Regions from separate parts of the Homo sapiens genome. Here region 1 is linked to region 2. Evidence: promoter capture Hi-C in 16 types of primary human blood cells and fetal thymus (Javierre and others, 2016). All regions are on one chromosome and are shown on one strand. The core of a region is centred on a gene start or on the middle of the fragment in contact, and the rest is flanking DNA. Distances in the headings are between cores, read along the strand shown. Region 1 overlaps ASH1L (ASH1 like histone lysine methyltransferase). Region 2 holds the start of RIT1 (Ras like without CAAX 1).

What was found. The method cuts DNA at HindIII sites, captures the fragments that hold promoters and counts their contacts. A CHiCAGO score of 5 or more calls a contact.
Region 1: a fragment that was not itself captured here is called in contact with the fragment with the promoter of RIT1 in region 2 in 2 of 17 cell types (megakaryocytes and M2 macrophages); the score reaches 6.4 in megakaryocytes.

What each region holds. Positions count from the first base shown.
Region 1 is chr1:155,334,304-155,337,428 of GRCh38, reverse strand. It overlaps ASH1L (ASH1 like histone lysine methyltransferase), which reads left to right. Exons shown (of 28, transcript NM_018489.3): 28 at 1-2,161. Among named protein-coding and RNA genes, the nearest start is that of MIR555, 11 kb to the left of the region's middle. The HindIII fragment of the contact is 1,183 bases long and covers 928-2,110 here.
Region 2 is chr1:155,909,994-155,913,393 of GRCh38, reverse strand. It overlaps RIT1 (Ras like without CAAX 1), which reads left to right and starts at 2,045. Exons shown (of 6, transcript NM_006912.6): 1 at 2,045-2,151; 2 at 2,590-2,738; 3 at 2,888-2,944. The coding sequence starts at 2,633. It overlaps KHDC4 (KH domain containing 4, pre-mRNA splicing factor), which reads left to right. Exons shown (of 14, transcript NM_014949.4): 14 at 1-349. The HindIII fragment of the contact is 5,298 bases long and covers 1-3,400 here.

The DNA of each region.
Region 1 (3,125 bases), core at 270-2,769, 580 kb after region 2:
TAAGGGTTAATAATGTAGAGAGGAGGGAGGACCACATTGATGACCAGAACCTACTGGTACTTTATAGCATTTGCCCCACCCCACAGCTTAGGTTTTTCTGTCATCCTCAGATCCCACAGGCATTGCGAAGAAGCTGCTTCCTATACCCAGGTATAACTCAAAATCCAAAGGGATAGGGCCAGGATCCCTATTCCTACCCCATCTATTCTCTGTTGGCTCCAAGAGCTACCCCAGAGACCTTAAACAGAAACAGTAGCTGAGGCTTCTTCCTAGATACCTGACTAGGGAAGTTTGTCTCTCCTTTCTTGCCCAACCAGGTCAAAGTAAAATGTGAGTTGACAGCTCAAAGCACTTGTAACTGCTGCCCCCTCCCTACCTCTACTCCCCAAAATGGAATCATGGGATAGGGAAGGCCCCCATGGGGTCAGAAGGGCACGGTAGTTCTTGCAATTATTTTTGTTTTACCCTTCATAACCTGTCAAACATATTTTTTTCTAATGAGAAAGCCAGGCCCCCGCCAGCACACATGCTGTTTTTAATGCGCTGTAGTTCTTGTGTGTCTGCTGTGCTGTGCAAATGGAGATTCAGTTCAAAATAAAATCATTTAAAAACCTACATAAAAAGAACTCTAAACCCACCCCTGCAACAAAAGTCACTACATAAACTGTTCAGCAGTATTCACCTATCAGAGTATTTGTTGTGAGTATAGATTATCAATTGAAAACACTACTCTTGTTTTCTTAATTGTACAGTTTTCAATGTCCCTTTCTTAAAGAGACAGTATATTTCTCTTCACCCCTAGCCCATCTTCCCTCACCCTCCTGAATGACATCAGGAGGTATATCCAGGGTGTCTCCTTCCTTCCTACTCTCTTGACCAGAAGTTAACAGACTATACTGTCTCTTTAAAAATAAAATTTAAAAAGCTTTGTTGTCTTTTCAGACATACATATGCATATATGTTTTAGATGTTCTTATAAGAGAAAAGATGGTTTTTAAATGTGCCAAGTTGTGTGTGTGTGTGTATATATATGTGTGTATGTGTGTGTATATATATATGTGTGTGTGTATATATATACACACACACACACACACCTGCTGTGTGATTGGTAAGCAATACAATAGTAAACATGTCCCCATTACTTTTTTCTAATATTGGACCAATGCTGTCCTAATTGTACATTTCCCCTTATGGTGACGATGCTCTGACTCGTTTAGGTAGACACATTGACCACCTTCCATTCCATTAAATATTTTTTCCTTTTTCCCCTTTCTGTGTCATTCTTGAGGAAAAAACAAAAGAGAGAGGGGATGCCAATGATCCCCTTGAGCAGAGAAAAAGCAAAATAAATATTTTATTAAAGAAAAAAGAGAATTAAGAAAATAGTTTGGAGTATTTTCTTACTGTAGAGAAGCACTGTACATTACTAAGAGACCTGGGTATAAGATACTCACATGTGGAGCTGGAAAAATCGCATGTCCAAGCCCGTTTGAGTGGTTTCTTTTGTTTTTCATTGCAGGGAGTGGGTGGGAGGGAGGTGGGACTAGGGGCACTTTGGGGGTCTCCTTTTAGTCAAAAGCGAGAAAATGACAAGAAAGAGATTAAAATTCAATGTTTCCTTTATAGTGTTAAACACTAAAATTTTAAAAAAGATGAAAAAGAAAAAAAAACTTTGTAAAATGCGAGAACAGAAGCAAAAGACACTACGCTCTGTCATTTTATCTTTCTTTTGTTGAAAGACTAAAAAAAAACTGAAATGTTTTTTAGACAATCAAATGTTAGGTAAGTGCAAAAACTTGTTTTTTCTTACTGGTGTAGAAATTAATGCCTTTTTTTATTTTTCAGTTATTTTATAATAACGAAATAAAAAGAACCCCCCAGCTGCCAGGCGGGTTTTGGTGTTTGAAATGCGGGGCAAAGCACTACATCACTGCAAATAGATACAGAGTTAGTCTGCATGTCTGTAGGCTGTGTGATTGCGGAAAATATAAATGCTGCTAATATATTTCCTTTTTACAAAAGCATATCTAAATAGATGATTGTTTTGATGTTAATCTTTGTAAATTATGTATTACCAATTTTAACATTGGATGTAATTGCATACAAAGCTTGCATCTCAATCCTTGAAAGTCTAGTATTAAATGGAAAAAACTTTTCCTAACTGTGGACTGATGAGCTTGCTATTTTTTCCTCCTTCTTATCCCCCATTTATCTTCCAAGACAACCTCATCCTGTTTCCAAGGGGATCTTTCTGAAACAACATCATAAACATGCTAGGCTGCACATGAGCACACTCACTGCCGTTGACTACTGGATAAAGTCATTTCTTCAGTACTAGGATCTTTCTAGTCTGGACTCAGCCTAATCAATCAGCACAGTAATAACACACACCAAATGTCCAGTTGCTTTTTTGTTTTTTGTGTTTGAGACAGAGTCTCCCTGTTACCCAAACTGGAGTGCAATGGCACAATCTCGGCTCACTGCAACCTCCACATCCCAGACTCAAATGATCCTTCTGCCTCAGCCTCCCAAATAGCTGGAACTACAGGCATGCACCACCATGCCTGGCCAATTCTTGCACTTTTTGTGCAGACGGAGTTTCACCGTGTTGCCTAACGTAGTCCAGCTGTTTTGTTGGGTTTTTTTTAATTTTTTTGTTTTTGAGACAAGGCATCACTGTGTTGCCCAGGCCAGAGTGCAGTGGCACATTATAGCTCACTGCAACCTCAACCTCCTGGGCTCAAGCAATCCTCCCAACTCAGCCTCCTGAGTTGCTAGGACTACAGGGGCGCACCACCACGCCTGGCTAATGTTTTTATTTTTTGTAGAGACAGGGATCTCCCTGTGTTGCCCAGGCTAGTCTCAAACTCCTGGGCTCAAGTGATCCACTCAACTCAGCCTCCCAAAGTTCTGGGACTACAGGCATGAGCCACCACGCCTGGCCCAGCTGTTTCTTTTCTTTTCTTTTTTTTTTTTTTCTTTTTTTTTTTTGAGATGGAGTCTCGCTCTCACCCAGGCAGGCGTGCAGTGGTGCAACCTCGTCTCACTGCAACCTCCGCCTCCCGGGTTCAAGGGATTCTCCTGCCTCAGCCTCCCAAGTAGCTGGGATTATAGGCGCCTGCCAC
Region 2 (3,400 bases), core at 796-3,295:
CTCATCACAGAAATGAAATACAGTGGTCTCTCTCTCCCAGAACTGGTTGCAGCTAAAACAGAGAGATCTGACTGCTGGCTATAGGATTTTGGACTTAATGACTGAAATTGCAAATTGTCCTTTTTCTTGGCATTACAGATTTTGCCAAAATAACTTTTTGTATCAAATATTGATGTGTGAAAGTGAAGGAGCTAGTCTGCTGAACCAGGAATAGTTTGAGATATTGAACTGTCATTTTTGCACATTTGAATACTTTGCAGGCTGGCTTTGTATAAACTTATCCTCTGGTTTCCTATATGTTGTAAATATTTAGACCATAATTTCATTATAAATAAATCTATAAATATTCTGCTTGTGGTTTCTCTGTTTTCTTCCACAACCCATCCATACACTGAAATTCATAAACTTTTTTACTCATAGCACAATGCAACTATAACATTACCAGAAAAATACATATACAGACCCCAAGGTTTGCATATAGTTCCCAGAGTTATGTAACTGCAAAATGTACCCTTAAAGTTCAAATGAAAAGGTTAAGGATTATTATGCTGGATATTTTCCATTTTCATATTTTAGCCCTCCTTTATTTAACAGCGTATTAAAAGGACTTCATGAATGAAGCGGGTTTTAAAGGAAATATGTTATTCTTGGAAAGACATTTTATTTTTTTTTGAGATGGAGTCTCGCTCTGTCACCCAGGCTGGAGTGGAATGGTGCAATCCTGGCTCACCGCAACCTCCTGGGTTCAAGTGGTTCTCCAGCCTCAGCCTCCTGAGTAGCTGGGATTATAGGCACCTACCACCATGCCCAACTAATTTTTATATTTTTAGTAGAGACAGGGAGTCACCATTTTGGCCAGGCTGGTCTTGAACTCCTGATCCTCAAGTGATCAGCCCACTTCAGCCTCCCAAAGTCCTGGGATTACAGGCGTGAGCCAGCACTCCTGGCCAGAAAGACTTAAATTTTGAGACGGAGTTTTGCTCTGTTGCCAGGCTGGAGTGCAGTGGCACCCTCTCAGCCAGCTAACTGCAACCTCCACCTCCCAGGTTCAAGTGATTCTCCTGCCTCAGCCTCCCGAGTAGCTGGGACTTATAGGCGCATGCCACCACACCCAGCTAATTCTTTTGTATTTTTAGTAGAGACGGTTTTACATGTTGGCCAGGATGGTCTCTTATTTCTTGACCTCATGACTCACCTGCCTCGGCCTCCCAGAGTGCTGGGATTACAGGTGTGAGCCACCGCGCCCGCCCGGCCCAGAAAGACATTTAAAAAGAACAGTGGTAGGCAGAGCTGCATGAGAACAATTTTCGTGTCAGTTTCTTCTAGCACCTGTGCTACGTAAATAGAGGGGAATATGGTTATAGTGGCTGCGCTTCAGTTCTGTATTTAACTCAAGGCCTCTGTTAACTCAGAGCTCTCTTTCCTGCCAGAGTGTGGTACATTTATTTAAAACAAGTTTTTGTGTGTCTTATACGTGTTTAAAATACATACAGAACTCTGATTAGGGAGTGTTGTGAACATCTGGTTTCTGAGAATGAATTTAGGTTTCAATAGCAAAAGTCATTGTGGCCGCTCCTTTAGGAAAGTCATTTTTCTCCTATGAGTAGTCATCCCCGGTAGACTTGACTGAAATCCTGTGTTTTAGGAGGATTTGGGGGGTGCCCCTGTCCTCCCTTCCTCTCATTACATTGGGTCAAATTAGTTTTGGGTTTTTTTTTTTCCCACAAGCAGCAAACAACCCTCGGTAAGTTGTTAATTTAAGTGTCCCTGCATGTCTCTTATCACGTACTCCCTTCCCTTTTGTGTAAATAATTTACTTTCTACTCGTGATTAAATACCCTTGTCTGTGAGTGCATACACCCTAGGTTGGGTAGGTGACCAGAGGACCTTCAGCGGTGGGTCCCGGAACTGGGTTTTAGGGACCTGGGAGGGGCGGGAAGAGGGCGGGGCAGGCTGTGGGCGTCACTGAGTGGCCCCGCCCCTCCTTCCGCGACTCGGGCGCCGGTGGCGCCATCTTACTCGGTTGCGGGAGGGGTCACAGGTCAGTGCCGGAGCCTCCGCGAGTGAAGGAAGACGAAGTGCGTGACCCGACCGGCTGTGGTGTTCCAGTCCCCACTGACCAGTAGGAGCAGCAGGGCGTCGGCTTGTGAGGTAGAGGGGTGGGGAGTCTGGCGGCGGAGCAGCAGCTGGGGGTGGGGAGGGGGTTCGGAGGAGAATGGGGAGGGGGCGGAACCTCTGGGTACCGCAGACGTGAGAGAACCCCTGCGGCCTAAGGGGCCGCATCCCTTTCTTCCCAAAACTTTCTCCTTGTCCCTACTGTGCCGAGACGTAAATTTATTTGTATCTTTTTATTTTTCTCTTTGGAAAAAGTAAAACCTGTGATGTGTCATGTGACTGAACTGTCTAGGAGGGAGGGTGAAGATGGGGGGGTTTCTTAGGGCCACCCGAAAGGGTGCAGTGGTGAGCAAGAGGGACAGGCCAGAGTAAGAGGGACAGGCCAGAATATGTATGGAAAGGTAAGGCACTGGCTTGAGGGCTGTCGCCGTGGTGTCTCCATCCTGGATTAAGCATTTCCTCCTCCTTTTCTAGGTGGCTTTTCCTCGGGGCAACCGAGGAAGGCCCCAAGAGGACAATGGATTCTGGAACTCGCCCAGTTGGTAGCTGCTGTAGCAGCCCCGCTGGGCTCTCACGGGAGTACAAACTAGTGATGCTGGGTGCTGGTGGTGTAGGGAAGAGTGGTAGGTAACATTTTCCATTTGACAGGAAGCATGGATGAAAAGTACTTAAATGACCAGATGGGATACTTGCTATCTTGCAATGTTAATACTTAAAATTCTCTCTGTGGGTCACCTTTGTGAGGATTTGACTTTTATTTCTTCTTTTGAAGCCATGACCATGCAGTTCATCAGCCACCGATTCCCAGAAGATCATGATCCCACCATTGGTAAGCCAGATCATCACTTATGTTTCCAAATATACCCCATAAAAATATCTTAATGAATATCAGTAGTTTCTAACTATTTATATTTTGAGGCTTTTTTGGAGTCTAATTCAGATTTATTTAGAAACAAGGGTATCAGCAGTTGGTAAGCAACTGAATATTTCTTTTTTTTTCAGACTTTATGTCATAAGCCATCTTTAGTCTTTGTCTCTTACTGAACATTAATGGGACAACTCTCTTTGTTGTATTTTTTTATGGTTGTATACAGGCCACTTAACGAAGCCTTTTCTTGCTGTCACTTCTCTAAGGGTATGACTTGAGACTCGCTCTGTAACTGTGAGTCAGCTGGTTTGAACTTCCACAAAAGGAAGCAGAGAAACAAGTAGAGCCAGGCTGCTGAACTCTTACAACCCAGACATGCCAAGCCTGGACATCTTGCACTTGGAGCTCTTGGTTTAC